Linked DNA regions of Homo sapiens: all the other regions are linked to region 1. Evidence: promoter capture Hi-C in human tissues and cell types (Jung and others, 2019). All regions are on one chromosome and are shown on one strand. The core of a region is centred on a gene start or on the middle of the fragment in contact, and the rest is flanking DNA. Distances in the headings are between cores, read along the strand shown. Region 1 holds the start of L3MBTL4 (L3MBTL histone methyl-lysine binding protein 4). Region 2 overlaps L3MBTL4 (L3MBTL histone methyl-lysine binding protein 4). Region 3 overlaps L3MBTL4 (L3MBTL histone methyl-lysine binding protein 4). Region 4 overlaps L3MBTL4 (L3MBTL histone methyl-lysine binding protein 4).

Region 1 (2,994 bases), core at 143-2,642:
TGTCTCTAATATCTTTTTCTTTTTGTTTTTCTTTTTCTTCTTCTTTTTTTTTTTTTTGAGTTGGAGTTTCGCTCTGTTGCCCAGGCTGGAGTGCAGTGGTACTATCTCAGCTCACTGGAGCCTCTGCCTCCCAGGTTCAAGCGATTCTAGTGTCTCAGCCTCCCGAGTAGTTGAGATTACAGGCGCCCGCCACCACACCCAGCTAATTTCGTATTTTTAGTAGAGACAGGGTTTCACCATGTTGGCCAGGCTGGTCTCGAACTCCTGACCTCAAGTGATCCGCCCTCTTCGGCCTCCCAAAGTGCTGGGATTACAGATGTGAGCCGCCATACCTGGCTAATATATTTTTCTTAACTGACTAGAGCACAGAACACAAATCGTGTGTTTGCACTTACAAATTTCTATGATCATTGTTCCTAGTTTAAAAACTTCATTAGCAAAGGGGTTTATATTTCTCTTTTCAGTAAGGACACGAAATTATGTTTCAACAATGCCCAGTCTCACCTAAAAAGCAAGTTTTCATTCTCTGTTTATGGTAGCCCACGACAAACCAAAAAGATCATTTTGGATGGTATCATTGTTAATCCTGCTAAATGATTCAATTTCCTGCTGAAAGCAACAAACTAATACTTATTTAGTACCTACTATTTATTATTTGCATACTAGGGTTTATACACAAGGCGTCCTATGAAAGAACATTTCATTCAAAAGTCACAACATATAGTCTTCAATTATCAGCTACCTTTATTTGTAAGCCAAAATAAATGATTTAATACAGTCCTCCCAAACTGGGAGACAATGCTTTGAGAAAGGCCAAAGCTAGCCAGTAAGGCCATAAGTTCCATGAGGGCAGGATCTACCCAGCTCCTGTTTCCTGCTCAATTCCAAGCAGTTAGAACAGGGTCAGTAAACACTGCTTGCCACTTGGAAAGAGTATTCTTTTATTTGGAAATGGTATCCAGGTACTCGTGAGTAGCAAAGTCAAGAGCAGGAAAGGGGAGTGGGGGAGGTTGCAAAATCGGAGCGAGCAGCAGGACCGAGAGGGATCCGGAGGAGAGAGCCTTCAGACGGTGAACCCCAAGAGCTGGGATGAAGCATGGGTGAGCTACTGGGACTTCGCTGCCAGGGAGCAAGCTGGCAGGCAGGAAGTAGCCAAGATTTGGGGGAATCCTTCCCAGGGAACGAATACAGAGAAGGACGCATCTGAAAATTCCGCCGCAGCCACCTCCCTCCCATGGGAAAGCCCCGACCTCGGCGGGCCCAGCGCCACCCGGCTCCCCGGGGTGTGGAACACTGAGCGAGGCAGGTGCGGCGGGAGCATGCGCGCGGGGCGGGCAGGGGGCGGCTCCCGCGCCCCCACCCCGCGCGTGCACCCTCGCGCCCCTCCCGCCGGGCACCGCGGGGCAGCGGCGCCGCAGCCTGGGCTGGCGGAACCTCGCGCTCCGACTCGCCCCCCGCCTGTAGCTCGGTCGGCGTTGCGGGCAGGCGCCGCTCCGCTGGGGGTAAGAAGGACGCCGCCGCCCGCGTGGGATGGTCGCGAGCCCGCGTGGGTGCCCACGGCCGCCGCCGCGCGGGGTGGCCCCATCCCCGGGCAGGTAGAGGGGCCTGCACGACTCCCGCGGCGAGGGCCGGGCCGGTGGGGGCGGTGGCGGTTGGGGATAGCCCCGGTCCCGGCCCAGGCTCTTTCTCTTTCTCTTTCGCCGCCGGGGCGCGCGCCGGGCTCCCCGCGAGAGGCGCTGCCTCACTTGTCGCCTACTTTGGACGGGCGCGGCCGCCGCAGAGCCCGGCGCCTCGGTCAGCCGCGAGGGCAGGGTCGGGGTGCCAGGCGCGGCTACCTGGGCGCCCTGGAGCCAGCGCAGCCTGGGACCGGGGGAGCGGGACGGGACGGGACTCCTGAGGGCCCCCAGGCAGTCCTCCGGCCATCGAGCGCCCGGCGGTGGGCATTTGGCTTTTGTTTCCTCTGGGGCTAACGCCCCCGTCTGCCCGCGTGTCCCCCTCAGCCGACAAGTGTCGTGTGCCCGGACGGGCGAGCGCTGCCTCCCTCCACCCGCTTTCTGCCCTTGTCTTCCTCTGCGAGTTCTGCCCAGCCTCGGGAGCGGGAGCCCAGGGAGTGCGCGCAGGGCGGGCGGGCGCCTGGCCAGCCTGGGACGGCGGCTCTCAGGCTCCTGCCACCGCCTGGAACTGCGGGGGGCGCGCCGGCCACAGTCGCCCTCGCCTGCTCTCCGGGCCTTCTTGGGCCCGCTTGGTCCCAGGTGGACGCGAGTCGAGCTGGGCACACCTGGGCCAGCGCCGCACTTACCTGCGGGATTGGTGAGAGCGTTTTCGCGAGGTCGCAAATTCCGGGTGGGTATTGTCCCCTGCTTTTGATCTCCCTTAGTCACTGGTTAAAGTGCGAAGTGTGCTTTATCTTACATATGCCTTTAGAGGGACATTCTTAATGCGCCAATGCCCCGAGGTGGAACTAAATAAAGGGAAGGCCTGGTCATTGTTACTGTTGAGACTGCTGTACTTAACAGTCAGAGGAAGGCAGCTGGTCACCACGACCCACTCGGCCATTCCCATGCTGAAGACTCGCTCTCACTTCACACTTGTTTGGACTCCACTATGACTTGCTGGTGGCCCATCTCCTGGATCCTTCTGTTGGAGCTGTTCTAGAAGATGCTTGTGGCAGGCTCCAGTTTCAGTCCTTGGCTGAAATAAGTGTAGTGTGGCTCTTCGGTTTTCTAATCTATTCCACCTAAAAAGGTTAAGGTGACAAACAGGTGGTGGGTACAGTAGAGTTGTTTTTGGCCCTTGGTAATATTAAAAACTTGGAATGCATTCCTTATATTACTACAGAATTAGGAGAAACGGTTGAAAGAGGAGAGGTTTTTTTCTTGGAGTATCCAAAGGGATTGGATTCGACTACACTGACTTGGTGTGTAATGGTTGAGTAGGAAGGAAGATGAACATAAAACTGCTATTAATTATGCTCTTAGATGTGAGGCAACATTG
Region 2 (2,994 bases), core at 294-2,793, 170 kb after region 1:
TTTAGAAGTAAATGTCTTTAAAGAAAAGCATAAATGACTATTTAGGTCAAATATTCTGATAATGTACAGAAGGCAGAAATAAAATATTATGAAAGCATTTTATTTTATTTTATATAAAGTTTATTAAACCTTATAAGCAGTGCAGACTAATATTTAAATCATGGTTGAAACAAAATATCTAATCAATGATACAGCAAGGTGAGGAAACTTGATTCACTGTAAGTAATTTGTTTCAGACTTAGGAATCACGGAAAACAAAGAACTATGAAAAAAATCACTATTTTCTTTCGATGGGAATGAAAAATATCATGGTTTTGTTATGTGCTAGAGGAGTCTGGGCCAGGCAGATGTGACCAAAACCTTTTCGATTTGCTGTGTGCAAGTGAGGTGGGGATGTGGTCAAGGATGATGCTGACGGGCTCATATCTTTGCACAGCAAACTTCTGTACATTGTCTCTGGCTTGGATGTCAGACTGTTCGATGTCTGTGGCAACTTCTGGAGTCAGTATACAGTCCTTTATTCCTAGTTATCCACTCAGGGTGTCCCTTGGGATCCTCCCCTGAGGCTGATGGCAGAGTCCTTGAGGTTGCTGGTTTGGAGGAAGCTGGTGACAGGCTACAGGCTCATTCATTCAGTAGGTATTTATGGAGCCCTTACCACGTGAGGCACTGAGGGCCAGTAGCAAGTAAAGCAATGTCTCTATCTCCACGGGGCTTCATTTCAGAGGAGAAGGATAATGGCGGTGGCTGCAGGGACACTCTTTCAGAAAGCATGGGGGAGAAAGGCCTCTCTGTGGACATAATGTTCCAAAGAGACGTGGGTGAAATGACAGAGGAAGCAGTGTGGTGTCTGGGTAAGCCCTCCAAGGGAAGAACAGGAGCAGGCGCCGGGGCAGGAGTGCGCTTTGCGAGGATGAGTCATCTCAGGGAGACAGCAGAGAAGCGCCCAGGTGGGAAGGTCGGGGACGAAGAGGGTGGTGTTCCCAGGCCTGGAAGGCTGTGCAGGGAGTTTGACTTCTGTTCCAAGGCTGGTGCTCAGAACCATATTTTGAGCCTGTACTGTTTGGCCAGCACTGTGTGAGAGCCACGCCAGGGCATGCGAATGGGAGGATGCAGCAGTTTTTAATGGGAGACTAGTAAAGATGCGGCGCAGAAAGCTGGAGCTGTGGAGTGGGCATTGGATTGAGAAGGCGTTTCTGTGCCTGGCATCCTGGATGGCTGCACCCTCAGGACCTCTGATGGTCTCTGTAAAGTCTCTTCCTCAGGAGTGGGGACAGGTACGGGAACTCTGGTCTCATCCCTTTGCCCATTCAGGAAAGCCTTAATGGGCGATGAGACTCCCATCAGGCCACCAGAGTACTGACTCCGTATCAGAGCATGTGAAATTGTATCGGGAATGATGCGCGTGATGGGGAAGCACTATCAACAGTTTTGCACATAATACATTTTAAAAAGGTGAAACAATTTGGAGATTTTAATTTAAATCTTTTGTGGGTGCTAAGGACGTTGAATTTATGGCAGGACACTAATAATAACCATATGAGGTTGGTGCAAAAGTAATTGCGTTTTTTTTCCATTAAAAGTAATGGCCAAAACCGCACTTACTTTTGCACCAACCTAATATATTTAATATGCATGTGATTACATCTTTTGGGTATTTTGAGTAATCTGTGCTTTTTTTAGGTTATAGAAAAGATAAATTTGTTTGGATGGATTACTTGAAGGCCTGCAAATTGCAAAATGCTCCAAAGAAATTATTCAGAAACAGAAGTCCTGTAAGTATTTTCTTTCCCAGCATAAATCAAATTTCCCCCAAGCTTAAATTTCTTAAAATTCACTATATATTCTGTTTTATTTTAATCCTTTAAGAAGTTATGGAAACTGTTAACTTCCTGTCACTTTTCTCACCTAATTCGTCAGTTTCTTGTGGGCATATCTTGGTTTTCTTCCTTTAAAAGTATAATTAAATACTTCAATTAGATGAGAAAAAGTTGGGAAAACTTAAAAACTTTATGTTTAAAGCCTACTAAAATTGAAAGTGTCTTTTAAAAATGTTTTCCCTTACAGGGAGTTAATCCTTTAATCTTGCTTTTGGTGTTTTGAAACCAGCAGATACTCTAAGTAGGCTTTGAATGTACCCAGCCTAGATATATTTAAGTGTAATGAAAATGAGAGTAACATTTTGTACTAATTGAAGGGGTGTTCTGCGGATCTGGGTAGATCACACTTCTTATGCCATCCGTGTCCCCAGAAATCTAGTGAACCTTCAGTGGAGGAGAATAAATTGCAACTCCAGAAGTCGGCTCTGCCACTGGCAGGCGGTGTCACTGTGCAGGCCACTCACTGAATTTCTCCAGACATCACTTCTGTGATCTTGAAAGCAGTGTTATACAATCGTTAAATATGTTTCCTAGATTTGTATCAAGAAAAGGAGCTATTAAAACGTGAAGTTGCTGTAAAAATAGAATGTGCTGAAGGAGAATAAAAATCAGGGTTTGATGAAAGAGAAGTAGAGAAAAACACCCTCTTTCAGTTCCCGGATACTGTATGTACTCCCTAAATCCCAGGATTGGCTAATTATAGATATATGAAGGGTGGGTTTGTAATTGTTATGTTATTGTAAATCATAGTTCATAGTATTTTTATACTAAGAAAAGCACAGATAGTAAAAAAGCACTCACATTTTAAAATTATAAATTTAAATTATATGTTAAATATATATAAATTATATATAAATACACATTTTAAATTATAATTTTATTTAAGCATGTATTTCTTAAATATTGAAAAAGCCACTTATTTTCAGATTGAGTAATCAAATTAACAGGATACTTTGGTGCTAATTAGAGCATATCTTCACCACTTTTTCAAATAGTGGCATTTGGAAACTTCAAAAGCCTATGGGAAGCAGAGAAGGTTATTTGATACTATTGTGTTCAGTAAACATCATATTTTAAAATTAATACAAATTATTCTAAGAAAAAAGAGGGAAAT
Region 3 (2,994 bases), core at 200-2,699, 150 kb after region 1:
AGAGTTGGAGAGACTCTTTGAAGGAGGCGGGTGGTGAGCAGGTGATGCACCCTTTGATGATTCTTTGGCTAAGGACTTTCTCAAGCTTTTGAACTCTAATATTTGTCATCTCTGAAAGTAACAGCAAAGTGTTAGTGTGTGAGAAAACAGACATGTTTGACATGTTGGACTGCCTTTCTCTCCAGTCATAATCTAACACTCAAGCTGCCCACGTGTTTAAGACTCTGTGTGTGCAAAGTGCCATGTAAGACTGGCCAAAACACTAAAGAACGTATGACATGGTGTCTTAGGATCTTGTGGGCTAGTTGGGATATGATATGCCCATAATAACACAGCAACAATCTGAGGTAGAATGTTAATTGCCCACAAGTAATGAATTTATGAGGAATTCCATGTGTGAGATGAGACCTCATTCGACCCTGAATGCAGAGAGAATTAAGCTCACCAATTATTCCGTCTGATTTGCCCTAATAACTAAAGAAGATGCTTGTGTTCAAGATCACAGTGTTACTCTAACTTGAATTTGTATTTTCAGATGAAATAAGCATTGTCTATAGTTAAAAATAGGTTTTAATATAATCAAAAAGGCAGATGGTTCATGTCAGCTTTCCAAGAAGGAGCATCAGACTAAACTCAATTTTATATTGACATTGTGTTTTTGACTATTAATGTTCATTTTCATTGTGTAAATATTAGTATAATGTTGTTCAGGTCAGCCAGCTGAGATGGAACGCTTCAGCTTTTGACACCGAAATGTTGAAAATAAAACTTAATTCTATGCTTAGAAAACCCTAAAGATTCTGCCAAAAGGCTCCTGGGACTGATAAATGAATTCAGTAAAGTTTCAGGATACAAAATCAGTGTACAAAAGTCAGTAGCATTTCTATACACCAATAATGTTCAAGCTGAGAGAAAATCAAGAACACAATCCCAATTACAATAGGCACACACAGAGAAAAATATCTAGGAATACATTTAACCAAGAAGGTGAAAGATCTTTTCAAGGAGAACTACAAAACACGGCTAAAAGAAATCAAAGATGACATATAAACAACTGGAAAAACATTCCATGCTCATGGGTGGGAAGAATCAATATCATTAAGGTGGCCATACTCCCCAAAGCAATCTATAGATTAAACATTATTCCTATCAAACTACCAATGTCATTTTTCACAGAACCAAAAAAACTTACTCTAAAATTCACAAGGAACTAAAAAAGAGCCCAAATAGTGAAAGCAATCCTAAGCAAAAATAACAAAGCATCGTATTACCTGACTTCAGACTATACTGCAAGGCTACAGAAACCAAACAGCATGGTACTGGTACAAAAACACATACATAGAACAATGGAACAGAATAAAGAGCCCAGAAATAAAGCTGCACATGTACAGCCATCTTATCTTTGACAAAGCTGACAGAAAAAAAGCAATGGGGAAAGGACTCCCTATTCAATAAATGGTGCTGGGATAGCTGGCTAGCCATATACAGAAGATTAAAACTAGACCCCCTACCTTTCACCATATACAAAAACTAAATCAAGATGAATTAATAATTTAAATGTAAGACCTCAAACTATAAGAGTTCTAAAAGAAAACCTAGGAGACACCATTCTCAGCATTGGTCTTGAGAAAGAATTTATGACTAAATCCTCAAAAGCAATTACAGCAAAAACAAAATTTGACAACTGAGACCTAATTAAACTAAAGGGCTTCTGCACAGCAAAAGAAACCATCAACAGAGTAAAGAGACAACCTACAGAATGGGAGAAAATATTCACAAACTATGCAGATGACAAAGATCTAATATATCCAGAATCTATAAGGAACTAGATTCAATAAGCAAAAACCAATTAACCCATTAAAAATGGGCAAAAGAAGAATGAAGGAGATGGAGAAGGAGAAAGGAGAAGAAAAAAGAAGAAAAAGTAAAAAATAAAAAATGGGCAAAAGACATGAACAGACACTTCTCAAAAGAAGACATACAAGTGGCCAACAAACATAAAAAAATGCTCAACATCACTAATCATCAGAGAAATGCAAATTAAAACCACAACGAGATACCATCTCACACAAGCCAGAATGCTTATTATTATAAAGTCAAAAAACAACAGATACTTGCAAGGCTGCAGAGAAAGAAAGGCACATGGAGTTGCATGTTCATTGCAGCACTATTCACTATAGCAAAGACATTGAATTGACCTAGGTGCCCATCAATGGTGTCATCCTCTTTCCATTGTTGTTCCTGTTCTGTTTCTGACCCTGGTCTGAGTGACTTCTCATGGGTTGTCTCTCTCCCAAATTATTCTTCTGTGGCCTTTGCAGTCCTGCCTGTGGTAAAACAAATTATGCAATTTTCCCAAGAGCTCAACACGTCATTCCCTCCTCCCTGTGGCCAGGTGCACACCTGCTTCCCCCCGGGCACTCTGCCTCCTGGGTGCCCCTGTGCCACGTCCACTTCTCCCTCTGGGTGCAGGCAGGCCTAGCCTACTCCAGCTCCCAACCACTCCTTTCTTACCCTATTTCTACTTGCATGCCCAACCCTCCCTTCTTGGTGATTTATGCAGTCGTAACACTGCTATTTCCACTCTTGCTGCCTCAATAGGGTGTGTGTGCATGTGTGTCTGCTCACACTGTTCACCTCCCTCTGCTCTCTCCCCTCCTCCACCCTCTCCCACCCAGTCCCGTTCTCACCCTGGGACATTTCTTTGCCCATGTGACAGTCCATCCACCTCCTAAGACCTTGGGTGCCTCCATGCCAGGAACCGGTGCCCCCTTTTCAGTTCAACCCATCTGCCTTCGTGACCACACTGGCATAAGTCACAGTTGAACCTCCTCTGCAATGGTAAACTTTAATCTCACCATCTGATTTTGTCCACTGTCTTTCCAGACTTTTCTGTCCCTTATTCTTACAGCACCACTTTTTCTTTTAAGACTTGTAGTTCCTTTGTTGTCTCCCTCCTGGCTTCACATTTTCCCTGGCCAGCTCAGCCCAGTT
Region 4 (2,994 bases), core at 280-2,779, 130 kb after region 1:
TTGGCTCTGTTTTAGTTGGAAATGACAAGAATGGCCCAATTTATATGATGACTTTCACATATACTTACAAATTGCTATACACACACACACACACACTTTATAGCACTATTTTAATATAGGTGCATCTCTATATATTGAAATCTCACATGGAAATCGGAATTAACAGTGATACCTCCAATTCCAGTCCCATCCCACAGGATTCATTCTAGTAACAGTTCTCCCTCTTTGTATATTTGAATCCCAGTCTTTGCCAGTGAGAAACGTGGCTCTGTTCCCCTTAGTTGTATAGTTGCTTATTTGTTCAGTGCCCCCACCATCCTTCAGTGCTGCCACCAACCCCTCCCTGGCATCCATGGCCACCTCATCCCACGTGGGCTCCACCATCCGGCTGCCTCCCTGTGGATGTCATCTTCAAGCTCCTTTGCTCCAAGAGCTGGCAGAGGCCACCCCTCTGCGGACGCCTCCTCGCCCTGAGTGGGCGTTAATACCGCACCAGGCTGCCCCGCAGAAGCCGTCCTCTCGACGCCCTCCGGAAACTGGACTCCCCTCGCTGGGTCAGCCTCCAGGTGGGTGCCCTCAACGCCTTGTTTAGGGTTCATTCCCGCCCCCGCCCATGCCAGGCTGCCCTGCCAGGCTCTGAGGCCTGTGCCTACTCCCCAACTTGTGGATGTTTTCCCTCCCCGTTCCGGGCTCCGACTGCCCACGCTGGGCGGCCCCTGTGCAGATGCCCTCCTACCAGTTTGGGCTCCTCCAGCGGGCTCGAGGCCAAGGTCGCTCTAGCTGCCTCCACCCATGTCCTCCCACCTTGCTCTGTTGCACAGAGTGGCTTCAGCATGGGATCATAGAATTGCTCAGGAGGGAAAGAGAAGGGAAAGGAGAAGGCCGAGAGGATGAGGCAGAATAGGATACTGCCCTGAAGAAGGGCACAGATGACATGGAGGAGAGCCTGATGTGGAAGAAAAGCGACCGGGGGCTTGGGAACAGCCTGCGTGCGCAGCCGGCCAGTGCGTCCCCTCCAAGGTGGCGGCGCTGCGGCGGTGTGGGAGCCAGCGAGGGAGCTGAGTGCCTGCCTCCCGCCTCGCCCGGCTGAGCTGAGCTGCGGGCCCTTTCCTCCTCCCGGCCCTTTTGCTTGGCCTCGTCTTTGGCTTCGACTTTCCCAGGAGGGACAGCCATGTGATGGTCGTGTTTTGAGTCTCGACGCCCGGGTGGGTCTGACATGTGGGCTCCGTGAGAGCCCCTGTGGATTTCCCTCTGCAGCAGGAAGGAGATAGGAATTGGTGATGTGGCTTTGCTGTTTTGCTAAATTGCTGTTATTTCAGCGTGTAAGCACGGAGCTGTATTTGTATGGTAGCTCACTTTGTAGAATAGACTAATTCCTTAAAAATTCACTTGGAAATGAATGTTCACTCCTGGAATCTTATTTTTCTCCTGACTTCGTATGCATAATTGAATGATACCAAACAACAACAACAAAGATTTTCCCCTAAGACAGCATCTAACTCACAATTAAAGCATTATAGTGCAATACACAGAAATTTCCCTAATGTTTAGGCCAGTGCGTGGCTGCCGGCCACATACGTAGAGAATGATCGCCCAGACTTTGGTTATTTAGCTGTGGTTTTGTCTTTTAGAAATCTTACCTTTTAGAAATCTGAACTTTTAGTTATTCCTTCTGAAGAGTGACTTCTTTTTATATTTGAAAGGAAGTGTAGAGTGTGTGTGCTTAGAATCAAACAGACCTTGTCTGAATTTTGGTTTTGCCACTTAATTGGCATGTTGTGGCTTTCAACAAGTGATTATACTTAGCTTTTCCAAGCCTCAATTCTCTTGCTTGTGAAATGGGAGTAATAGATAATATATCTTACCCCATAAAATTGTCAAGATTAAATGAGAAAATGTTTGTAATGTGTTTGACTCTAGGGAGATACTAATAAATGGTATTTTTTGGAACAGCTTAAATAGGGAATTTATTCATTTTTAAAATAACTTTGAGGCTCTTTTTGGTGTAGATGCTCATATTTTGCTTAGGAGGTTCCTATAGGACTGTTTTTAAAACTATTTAGAGAATTAAATAGTTTTAATTAAATTAAATAATATTTCCTTTAGTATTTTTATCCTGCTTAGGAAAGAACTTATTTTTCTTTGAGGAGTAGTCAGAGTTGAAGTCTAAACCTTTAAAAACTCATTTGGTTTTTCTTTTCTTACATAACCAGAAATAGTACAATATGTTTCTCACAAGCCTTTCCTGAAGCCTCTTTGGGATGTAGCTATGTGTAGAAAATAACTTTTTCAAAAAGCACTTTAAGTGAAAATAGATTTTTGCCAATAGTTTGTGACTGTCCTGATGAAAGTGAAGAGCATGGGAAAATGACAGAGGCATGTGCTTGGCCTTTAGTAAGTTGAACAGATTTAACAGATATATAGGATTATAAAAATATACAAACTTTCAGAAAGCATGAGAAATGTGTTAATTATTTTGGGATGAAAGGGCTCTTACATGCTGGATTTAACGTCACTCTCATCTTAGGAAAGCCTGTACCTGTGGGTCTTGGAGAGGAGGCGTTGCTCCCAAGATCAGTGAATGCACTGCCCATCAGCAGCACAAGCCAGGACCTCAGGGGCTGCCTGGAGGTTCAAGGGACCTTTTTCTTTTTTTACTTCCCTTGGGCAATCTGACAAGGGAGGCTGTTGCTTCTGTTTCTGGAACATTTCTCATCTGTCCACTTATTTTCGTCTTCCCTGTGCCACTTGAGTCCAAGCTGTCACCCCGTGCTTGGACTTCGCAGTTGATCTCCCCAGGCCTGCTCTTGGTACTCCCTAATCCAGGTGCACAATGCCAGCTGCATTGTTCTTTTCAGTACATGAGCCTGATCCTGTCCACCTGCCTACCTTTCCTTTGCTTAAAACCTTTCCAGTGCTTCCCATTGCCTGTAGGATAGGATGTGGGCGAAATTCTTACTAAGGCCTCCAAGCTCTGAAGCATCTTGCCCTTTC

Evidence for each region. The method cuts DNA at HindIII sites, captures the fragments that hold promoters and counts their contacts. A contact is called where the count stands out against the background at its distance.
Region 2: a contact is called between a fragment that was not itself captured here and the fragment with the promoter of L3MBTL4 in region 1, in 2 of the 25 tissues and cell types used here (heart left ventricle and lymphoblastoid cells).
Region 3: a contact is called between a fragment that was not itself captured here and the fragment with the promoter of L3MBTL4 in region 1, in 1 of the 25 tissues and cell types used here (lymphoblastoid cells).
Region 4: a contact is called between a fragment that was not itself captured here and the fragment with the promoter of L3MBTL4 in region 1, in 2 of the 25 tissues and cell types used here (lymphoblastoid cells and small bowel).

The regions. Positions count from the first base shown.
Region 1 is chr18:6,413,309-6,416,302 of GRCh38, reverse strand. It overlaps L3MBTL4 (L3MBTL histone methyl-lysine binding protein 4), which reads left to right and starts at 1,392. Exons shown (of 19, transcript NM_001330559.2): 1 at 1,392-1,502. RefSeq lists a silencer at 1,350-1,889. The HindIII fragment of the contact is 7,728 bases long and covers 1-2,994 here.
Region 2 is chr18:6,240,139-6,243,132 of GRCh38, reverse strand. It overlaps L3MBTL4 (L3MBTL histone methyl-lysine binding protein 4), which reads left to right. Exons shown (of 19, transcript NM_001330559.2): 8 at 1,684-1,775. Among named protein-coding and RNA genes, the nearest start is that of L3MBTL4-AS1, 15 kb to the left of the region's middle. The HindIII fragment of the contact is 6,749 bases long and covers 1-2,994 here.
Region 3 is chr18:6,258,493-6,261,486 of GRCh38, reverse strand. The region is part of intron 5 of L3MBTL4 (L3MBTL histone methyl-lysine binding protein 4); the gene reads left to right. L3MBTL4-AS1 (L3MBTL4 antisense RNA 1) reads right to left here. Exons shown (of 3, transcript NR_110765.1): 2 at 2,691-2,833; 3 at 553-2,327. Among named protein-coding and RNA genes, the nearest start is that of L3MBTL4-AS1, 3.2 kb to the right of the region's middle. The HindIII fragment of the contact is 5,812 bases long and covers 1-2,994 here.
Region 4 is chr18:6,282,586-6,285,579 of GRCh38, reverse strand. All of the region lies in intron 4 of L3MBTL4 (L3MBTL histone methyl-lysine binding protein 4), which reads left to right. Among named protein-coding and RNA genes, the nearest start is that of L3MBTL4-AS1, 27 kb to the right of the region's middle. The HindIII fragment of the contact is 4,673 bases long and covers 1-2,994 here.